Regions from separate parts of the Homo sapiens genome. Here region 1 is linked to region 2. The links are contacts of gene promoters, found by promoter capture Hi-C in blood cells and fetal thymus (Javierre and others, 2016). All regions are on one chromosome and are shown on one strand. The core of a region is centred on a gene start or on the middle of the fragment in contact, and the rest is flanking DNA. Distances in the headings are between cores, read along the strand shown.

Evidence for each region. The method cuts DNA at HindIII sites, captures the fragments that hold promoters and counts their contacts. A CHiCAGO score of 5 or more calls a contact.
Region 1: a fragment that was not itself captured here is called in contact with the fragment with the promoter of TPI1 in region 2 in 6 of 17 cell types (total CD8 T cells, naive CD4 T cells, activated CD4 T cells and 3 more); the score reaches 7.6 in total CD8 T cells.

The regions. Positions count from the first base shown.
Region 1 is chr12:6,973,147-6,975,968 of GRCh38, forward strand. It overlaps EMG1 (EMG1 N1-specific pseudouridine methyltransferase), which reads left to right. Exons shown (of 6, transcript NM_006331.8): 2 at 1,193-1,294; 3 at 1,406-1,547; 4 at 1,944-2,002; 5 at 2,083-2,232; 6 at 2,550-2,822. The coding sequence ends at 2,663. Among named protein-coding and RNA genes, the nearest start is that of EMG1, 3.6 kb to the left of the region's middle. The HindIII fragment of the contact is 838 bases long and covers 1,154-1,991 here.
Region 2 is chr12:6,865,829-6,872,583 of GRCh38, forward strand. It overlaps TPI1 (triosephosphate isomerase 1), which reads left to right and starts at 1,703. Exons shown (of 7, transcript NM_000365.6): 1 at 1,703-1,853; 2 at 3,036-3,159; 3 at 3,271-3,355; 4 at 3,430-3,562; 5 at 3,860-3,945; 6 at 4,221-4,308; 7 at 4,437-5,120. The coding sequence starts at 1,739. The coding sequence ends at 4,555. It overlaps USP5 (ubiquitin specific peptidase 5), which reads left to right. Exons shown (of 20, transcript NM_001098536.2): 20 at 156-804. The coding sequence ends at 249. SPSB2 (splA/ryanodine receptor domain and SOCS box containing 2) reads right to left here. Exons shown (of 3, transcript NM_032641.4): 2 at 6,410-6,755; 3 at 5,107-5,491. The coding sequence ends at 5,364. RefSeq lists enhancers at 1-618, 619-1,280, 4,893-5,478 and silencers at 1,550-1,599, 1,870-2,309, 6,135-6,254. The HindIII fragment of the contact is 21,039 bases long and covers 1-6,755 here.

The DNA of each region.
Region 1 (2,822 bases), core at 323-2,822, 110 kb after region 2:
CTTGATTCCATCTGTACCTTTGCTCATGCCAGTCTTTCTTTTTTCTTTTTTTTGAGACAGGGTCTTGCTGGAGTGCAGTGGTACAGTCTTGGCTCACTGCAATCTCTGTCTCCTGGGCTCAAGCCATCCTCCCACCTTAGCCTCCCAAGTAGCTAGGACTACAGGCATGTGCCACCATGCCCAGCTAATTTTTGTATTTTTAGTAGAGATGGGGTTTCGCCATGTTGCCCAGGCTGGTCTTGAACTCCTGACCTTAAGTGATTTGCCTGCCTTGGCCTCCCAGAGTGCTGGGATTACAGCCGTGAGCCACTGCATCTGCCCCCATGCCCGTCTTAAAACTGGGAATAACCCCTCTTCCTTTTACTTCTGAGAGTTTTCTTTGATTAAACTGCCTCCTGCATCATTAGTTTTCACATTTCTTTTTTTTGAGATGGAGTCTCGCTCTGTTGCCCGGGCTGGAGTGCAGTGGCGCTGCAAGCTCCGCCTCCTGGGTTCATGCCATTCTCCTGCCTCTGCCTCCCAAGTAGCTGGGACTACAGGCGCCTGCCACCATGCCCGGCTAATTTTTTATATTTTTAGTAGAGATGGGGTTTCACCGTGTTAGCCACGATGGTCTCAATCTCCTGACCTTGTGATCTGCCCGCCTCGGCCTCCCAAAGTGCTGGGATTACAGGCGTGAGCCACCACGCCCGGCCTTCACATTTCTTGTTCAGATTTGCAGCTCTTCACTTAGTGCATGTTTGGTGTACGCAAACTGAGGGTGGTGACTCGATATTTTGCACAGTACCTACTTACTGCTCCTGTAATAAACACAGCATTCAGCCTTGCTAACTACTAACTCCTGCCTAGTTCCAGGATGTCTCATTGGCCTTGCCTAACAGCCACAGGTTTTTTAATTAAATCCAGTGTATTAGTAGATAATGTGAAGTCACAGGTTGTGCCCTTCCTCCTGTTTCCCTCTCAGACCATTCACTGGGGAGTGCAAATAAGGCTGCACAGTAATCCCCCGAAGGGCTTGCTGGGCTCCACCCCCAGTGTTCCTGGTTTAGTAGGTCTAGGGTGGGCCTGAGAATTTGCCTAACAAGTTTCCAGGTGCAGCTGCTGCTGGTAGTTTGGGGACCACACTTGAAGAACCACGGGGCTAGGTAACAGAAGCTTATGCTGTTCTCTCGTCATGTTCCCTGTTCTTCAGGTAGGGAAGACATATGAGCTACTCAACTGTGACAAGCACAAGTCTATATTGTTGAAGAATGGACGGGACCCTGGGGAAGCGCGGCCAGATATCACCCACCAGGTAACTCCAGGGACAGTGCTCACAACCCTTTGAGCCTCTGTATGGAAGGGTTGGCAGCTGAGTGCTGCCTCTCTTCAGCCTTAACCATGTCTCGGTTTCTGCTTTGCTCAGAGTTTGCTGATGCTGATGGATAGTCCCCTGAACCGAGCTGGCTTGCTACAGGTTTATATCCATACACAGAAGAATGTTCTGATTGAAGTGAATCCCCAGACCCGAATTCCCAGAACCTTTGACCGCTTTTGTGGCCTCATGGGTAAGAAGCCTTAGAACAAAGTTAGAATGAACTTGTCAGTAGGGAAGAAGGGAGGAAGAGGAAAAGGGAGAACTAAATGTGGATTTTTAAGCGAGAAAATGGGAGAACAACATGATTAATACCAGGACAAGGACTGTTATTATTTTTCTATGTTTGTGGAAACTCCACTCCTGTTCTTGCAGTAGCTTCCTGGCTGAGTGAAAGAGGGAGTCTGAACCCATCACTGTACAGCTAGCCATATGCTTGGCAACTGTTTGTTCCTAACATTTCAGGAGTCCAGTCTAGATATAAAGCACACAGGGAACTCATCTTATCCATGGGGTTTTCCTTGTTCGATGACTGGACAGAAGGACTGTGGTCTCCATCTAGCTCTGAACTCTTTTTTCCCCCTTCTAGTTCAACTTTTACACAAGCTCAGTGTTCGAGCAGCTGATGGCCCCCAGAAGCTTTTGAAGGTGAGGTATTGAAACCTGTTAGTTGAAGGCTGGTTCTGGGAATGTTTCTGGGGCTGACTTTTCTCTCTTTTTTACTTTAGGTAATTAAGAATCCAGTATCAGATCACTTTCCAGTTGGATGTATGAAAGTTGGCACTTCTTTTTCCATCCCGGTTGTCAGTGATGTGCGTGAGCTGGTGCCCAGCAGTGATCCTATTGTTTTTGTGGTAGGGGCCTTTGCCCATGGCAAGGTAAGGTCTGGGCTCAACCCTGAAATTCTTGGTAGAGCTGAACTTAGTATAGAATTCCCAGAGCAGTAGGCATTTTAACAATGCTTACAATGAGCTAGAAGACACATGACAGTTCCACACCCTGCCCCAGGGCACATCCTTTGAGGGCTGCTGCCATAATTGGAAGTCACAGTTAGGACCTTCTTCATCCTTTGTAGGGATTTGATATTCAACAGCACAGCTGAAATACTAGCTCAGCCATAGTTTTCCTGCCCTAAAGAAGGGCTGAAACAGCTACTGAGTGACAGAGTTGGCTGACAAAACTGTTCTTTTCTTAGGTCAGTGTGGAGTATACAGAGAAGATGGTGTCCATCAGTAACTACCCCCTTTCTGCTGCCCTCACCTGTGCAAAACTTACCACAGCCTTTGAGGAAGTATGGGGGGTCATTTGACAGTAGTAGAACCTGTTCTGAAACCAGAAACTGTTGATGTCACATCCTTTGACCCTGGTCTGAGCTGACTGCTGGAAGATGATCTTTCTGCACTGAGACTGTGGAGTTTGGGGAAGCCAAGGCTGTACATTTGCTATTTGTTTATCCTATGAATACTGT
Region 2 (6,755 bases), core at 453-2,952:
GAAGCTCCCTTAAGGCACATGGTGGCTGGGCTGTGGATTTGGGGTATGGGCAGAGAGTGTGGAGAGCACTTCCAGGGGCCATGTCTGAGAGACTACATGATGCCACTTTGAATGCCCAGTTTGTTCATCCTTTTCTGTTTTCCCCACTTCCCCAGATGGGTGATCTACAATGACCAGAAAGTGTGTGCCTCCGAGAAGCCGCCCAAGGACCTGGGCTACATCTACTTCTACCAGAGAGTGGCCAGCTAAGAGCCTGCCTCACCCCTTACCAATGAGGGCAGGGGAAGACCACCTGGCATGAGGGAGAGGGGCTGAGGGATGGACTTCAGCCCCTCTGCTCTGTACCCTTTTTCCTTTTGTCCCCGGCAGCAGGGAAGAAGCTGGAGGCCGTGGGAGAATGGCTGGGCAGAGCAGAGGGGCAGCGATAGACTCTGGGGATGGAGCAGGACGGGGACGGGAGGGGCCGGCCACCTGTCTGTAAGGAGACTTTGTTGCTTCCCCTGCCCCCGGAATCCACAGTGCTCTGCTTCTCTGTGTCGCCCCGCCCAGCCCCCTGGTGTGGAGGGAGGGGTCTCGTTTGTGCGCGTGGGTGTAGCTTTGTGCATCCTCTCCCAGTGGAGCGATCACCTGTGCCTCCCCTCCCCCTTTGTTTGCCCCTGTGTGGTTGGTCAAGGAGGGATGTGAGGGAAATAGGGACCCCCCGACTTGCCCTCCTGCCTCAGTCTTTCCCCCACCCTGTCTCTTCCTTGTCCTTCTCTGGAAAATGCCAAAATACACGATGTGAATAAAAGTACAACGGCTAAATTGTGTCCTGTTTGATACCTTGGGGGAGAGGCTTACCTTCCTGGGGTTAGCAGGAGGGCGCTTAAGAAAACTCCTAACTCTGGCCGCCTCCCTGCCAAAGTCAAGTCTCCACTTTTCACTGGTTCTAGAGCTCTAGGAAAATTGGGGTTGGGTGGGGAGGTGGAGTAGAGTGACTAAATGCCGACACAAAGCCAAGGAAAGATGGAGTGAAGAACCCTTCCCTCTCTTTATTCACACAGGAGTGGAGGATTTCCCAAATGTCCCTAACTGGCTAGCTGGCTTCAGGCTGGGACTCAGTCCCTGCAGTTCCTGCCAGGCCTTGCCAGCCGGGGCGAGGGTTGGGATGATCCTGGCGGCCTATGCCTGTGTGGGCTGCCCCTCCCGCTGTGAACCCTGCATTTGTCCCGCAAGTTTTCACTCAGGTAGACTCCCTGGGTACAAGGGTGCCTGCTCAGCAGTCGGGCATGAGCTGCTCCGATGGGCGAAGGAGGTTGTCTATCCCACAGTTGGAGAGGGGCCCTCTCTGCCCCAGTGGGCGATCTGGGCTACGGCCAAGTTGCCACCAGCTAGTTCCGCTTGAAAACCACTTCTGGCCCCGTGGGGGACTCAAGTCGCCAAGCGAGGGTTCCCCTGAGCGCCGGAGCTCACAGGTCTCGCCTTGTCCCGAAAGCCCCGCAATCGAGGCGGAGGCGACCGAGCCCCCGACTCTCCTAGAACGTTGCCACAAGAAGGGGGAACGTCGGAACAGTGCATCATCGGGCGGCGGCCGGGGCGGCGGCAGGAGGGCGGGCGGGGGGCAGGGCTCCGGGGGACTGGGCGGGCCATGGCGGAGGACGGCGAGGAGGCGGAGTTCCACTTCGCGGCGCTCTATATAAGTGGGCAGTGGCCGCGACTGCGCGCAGACACTGACCTTCAGCGCCTCGGCTCCAGCGCCATGGCGCCCTCCAGGAAGTTCTTCGTTGGGGGAAACTGGAAGATGAACGGGCGGAAGCAGAGTCTGGGGGAGCTCATCGGCACTCTGAACGCGGCCAAGGTGCCGGCCGACACCGGTAAGCCCTCGCCGAGGAGGGGTCTGGCCGGGCCGGGGCCGGGGCCGGGGCAGGAGTGGCAGCGCCCTCTCCCGAGGCCCCGAGGCCCCGAGGCCGGTATCCGCGCGGACCTGATGCAGGGCTGTGGGACGAGGGCCGCTGGGGTCCGGGCAGGGGCCTCGCAGCCGCAGCCCCGTCGGTGCGTCGAGGGGGCAGGGCGGAGCACATGATGCCCCTTGGACTATGGGGCAGGTAAGGACGTTTTGGGTCTCCTGGAGGAAGGTGGCCCCGGGGCGCGCACTGGGGCTGTGCCCGCCAGGCGACGGGGTTAGGAGCGGAGCCCGAGGCTCTGCGGGAGACCGGGGGAGGCTGGGCCGCGTGGGCTTCCCGCTCCCTGCGCCCTGGCCTCCCGCGCCGTGCGCCGCCGCACGTAGCCCCAGACTCCTCCCCTTCCTCGCCGGCGTCCGCGTCCCCGCGCCGAGCTGCTCGGGCTCCCTGAGCCCCAGATCTGACCCCTTCCCTTCGGCAACCTGAACGACTCCCGCCTTCCACGGAAGGGACCGAGCCCGTGCCAAACAGGCTGAGCGATTTGGGAGTGAGGAGCCATCCTACCGCTTTCCCCAACCTGGAAACAGCAAAGCGCAAGGCCTCTGAGTCAGTTAGGTCTCTGCCACCCACGGGCAAAGGATGCTCTCCTCCATCCTCCTTCCTCCCTCCACCGAAATCGGAGAGCCGCGGGCCTGATCCAAAGAGGCATCCCCTTCTCGTTCATTCCCCAGAGGCCTCAATACAAACCCCAGGAGTTGGCCCCTCTCCTTTTGCTACAAATCCTTGCCTTGCAAAGGGGAGGTGAGGATGGGCTATTTTAGAAGGGAAGCAGGGTTGCTCCCTGGAGAATGCTGAGTCTGTGAGGTGCCTATGCCGAGAATAGCTCGAGGAAATTGGAGCCCCAGCTGTTAAAAGAGCAGAGGGCAGGGTGAGGGCCGTGGCCTCTCAGGGGTATCTGGAAGGCTCTTCGAGTTGAGTGCAGACCCAGCCTGGGCTGGAAAATGGACAAAGGTCATCTTGCTGGGGTGAAAAGGGGGAGAGCAGAACCAAGAAGAAGAGGGTGAGGGCTGGGGGGCTCCAGGGCACTGGTTAGGAATTGTGGGGAATGAAGGCTTTCTTTAGTCTCATCCCCCTGTGGTACCATCTTGTCCTCAGAGGTGGTTTGTGCTCCCCCTACTGCCTATATCGACTTCGCCCGGCAGAAGCTAGATCCCAAGATTGCTGTGGCTGCGCAGAACTGCTACAAAGTGACTAATGGGGCTTTTACTGGGGAGATCAGGTGAGATCGAGGTGGAGAGGGGTGTGTGGGACCCTTCCCTCACTTTCCTCGTTGAGGGGAAAGCCACAGGGTGGGCTCCCTGCTGAACCTTGGCTTCATCTCTTCCTTTAGCCCTGGCATGATCAAAGACTGCGGAGCCACGTGGGTGGTCCTGGGGCACTCAGAGAGAAGGCATGTCTTTGGGGAGTCAGATGAGGTTAGTAGCCAAGAGAGAAGATAAGGGATGTCTTTTTCCAAGAAGGATGTCTCACCAAGTCTGTTTCTCAACAGCTGATTGGGCAGAAAGTGGCCCATGCTCTGGCAGAGGGACTCGGAGTAATCGCCTGCATTGGGGAGAAGCTAGATGAAAGGGAAGCTGGCATCACTGAGAAGGTTGTTTTCGAGCAGACAAAGGTCATCGCAGGTATCTCTGGAGAAAGGGACCTTTGAGCCTATCCAGGGCCACAGAGACTCAGAGGGTAGGGTCAGGCCCTGGAGCCTGTCTTGGTCCCCATGCTGATCCAGAAAAGGAAAAAGGGGAGGGGGAGTGACAATCTTTGCTTGGGGCCTATGACTTCTCCAGCCCCAAGGTAGATGCCACCTGGAAATCCCCCAATGTCCACTAGGGGGCAGTAGGCCACCGTTCTTCGTACTCCGGAGAACCTGGCTGGAGAGCTCTTTCTTGTTCACCCTTCCCTCCATCTGTATCTCTGCCCTGCAGATAACGTGAAGGACTGGAGCAAGGTCGTCCTGGCCTATGAGCCTGTGTGGGCCATTGGTACTGGCAAGACTGCAACACCCCAACAGGTAACCGGGCCCAGGAGCCCTGCCCTCATCCCAGCCTGCCTCAATAGGTTTGGACAGACACAGCCCACATGGGGCAACCCCTTATTTCAAAGACACAGAGACCTTGAACCCAGAGACAGTGACTTGTCCAAGGGCATCCAGTCCAGGGCCTGGCTTGGATCAGAGCCCTGGTACTCTGACTCAGTCAGAAACCACACTAAGTGTCCACTGGTGCCAGTGATTTTTCCTCTTAGAGAGGCAGAAAAGGTCTTACTTAGGCCAGCTTCTTGTTCTAGGCCCAGGAAGTACACGAGAAGCTCCGAGGATGGCTGAAGTCCAACGTCTCTGATGCGGTGGCTCAGAGCACCCGTATCATTTATGGAGGTGAGTGGCTTTGGTTCCCGGCTGAGGTGGAGTGGGCTGAGGACTAGACTGAGCCCTCGGACATGGAGGTGGGGATGGGGCAGACTCATCCCATTCTTGACCAAGCCCTTGTTCTGCTCCCTTCCCAGGCTCTGTGACTGGGGCAACCTGCAAGGAGCTGGCCAGCCAGCCTGATGTGGATGGCTTCCTTGTGGGTGGTGCTTCCCTCAAGCCCGAATTCGTGGACATCATCAATGCCAAACAATGAGCCCCATCCATCTTCCCTACCCTTCCTGCCAAGCCAGGGACTAAGCAGCCCAGAAGCCCAGTAACTGCCCTTTCCCTGCATATGCTTCTGATGGTGTCATCTGCTCCTTCCTGTGGCCTCATCCAAACTGTATCTTCCTTTACTGTTTATATCTTCACCCTGTAATGGTTGGGACCAGGCCAATCCCTTCTCCACTTACTATAATGGTTGGAACTAAACGTCACCAAGGTGGCTTCTCCTTGGCTGAGAGATGGAAGGCGTGGTGGGATTTGCTCCTGGGTTCCCTAGGCCCTAGTGAGGGCAGAAGAGAAACCATCCTCTCCCTTCTTACACCGTGAGGCCAAGATCCCCTCAGAAGGCAGGAGTGCTGCCCTCTCCCATGGTGCCCGTGCCTCTGTGCTGTGTATGTGAACCACCCATGTGAGGGAATAAACCTGGCACTAGGTCTTGTGGTTTGTCTGCCTTCACTGGACTTGCCCAGATAATCTTCCTTTTTGAGGCAGCTATATAAATGATCATTTGTGCAAGAAAAAAAAAAAAACAAGAACAGGTTTCTATAACAACATCTCTTACTATTTTTACTTGAAAAAATGTTTTGCGTAGCAGACTGTCATAGCCTTGAACGCCGGCTCCCTTTCTTCCTCCCTCCAAGTGGCTCTGGGGCTGTTGATTTCCGCAGAGCTTGGGTTGGGGTAGGGGCTCAGCCTCACCAGCTTTCAGCAGCTGGTCTAGGCCAGCAGTGCCTCCCCACCTCCCCAAGGGGAGGGGTGGTGGCAAGACCTCAGCACAGTCTGTGGTATCACAGGGCTCACTGGTAGAGCAGGTAGCGCTTCATGGCAGGGGGCAAGGGCAGGGCAGACACCTGGCCGAGCCGGGTATCCCCCAGGTTGTGGCGCACACACAGGCGGCTCAGGTGCAGAAGGGAGTGTGGCTCCGCTGGGAGAGAGAAGGAGGGGAATGTAAGTATGGGTGCAGCCACCAGCCAGATGTCCTCAAACTACGGGGTCCTACTCAGATGCCTTTCTGCTTTCCTGCTTCGAGTGTGCCCACCTGGCTGAAAGGGGAATTTGAGATACCCGGAAGTTCTGCCTCCCAGATAAGATTTCACACATCCCTAGTCAGAGCTGGGGGTGAAGAGCTGGCTAAGGCCCTCTAAACAACAGGCCAAGGTGGCTCTGACAGTGGTGGAGCTGGCCCAGGCTTTGACTCCAGAGGCTTGGGAGCTGGGGCTGAGGTGAGGAGGGATGGCCCTCCACTCTACAGCCCACACAACTGCAGAGAGCAGCTCCAAGCCCTGGACCCAGTCAGTTCCTGGGGAGGCTCCTCCCCTGCTGCCCCACCCTAAGGCCCTGCCTCCTCCACTGCTCTCCTCCCTGGTGCCCAGGGCCCCAGTGTCTCCATCCAGAGGTGTGGCTGAGGAAGGAAGTAGGTATGTGGCACAGAGACAGGTTAGAGCCCAGGGAATCCGGTATACAGCCTGGGTACCTGGCTCTGCCCATCCTTCTTTTGGACCTGTACATCAAACCCAGTACCTAACGCTTTGCACCTCTTGCTCAGGGGTTGATATCTCCTGAATTCTCTCATCCCTGCAGTTCCTCCCTCCATTCTGAAGGTTCACCATTTACTGGCCAAGAGAACTTGAGAAAGTTGCTTTCTCAAGCCTGTTTCACCTCTATTGCTGTTGGGTTAAATTAAATAACAGCTGTGAAGACCCCTAGCCTTTCCCAGCACTGAACAGAGGTTGAGGCAGGCTGGATGAAGGTCCATCCCCTCTGCTCTTGTCAGAAGAGTTTCCATCCCAAACCACTGCCACCAGGGACAGAAAGTTCTCCCCACGTCTGCCCCAGGCCTCACCTCTCCTTTCGCCCAGGTAGCGGATGCGGACCTGGCACTGGCCCCAGACAGCGCTTACTGCCGGATAGAGGGTCCTGCCCTTCAGTCCGCGGAATGCTGGCCCCAGGTAGGTGCCCCCAATAGCGTAGCCCAGAGTTCCCTCCTCCATGTCCAGAACCACCAGCAGTCTCTCTGGCACCTCCAGCTGCTCACCCTGAGTTCCCGCTGGATACTGGGGGGCTCCGGGCCCCTTGCTCTGATGGTACAGCTTCCCCCGCCCGATGTCCCAGCCCCACGACTCGCTGTTGCTGCCCAGCAGCGCCGCGTAGTGGTCAGTCTGCAGCGGGGCGAGGGCCGTGGCCACGCC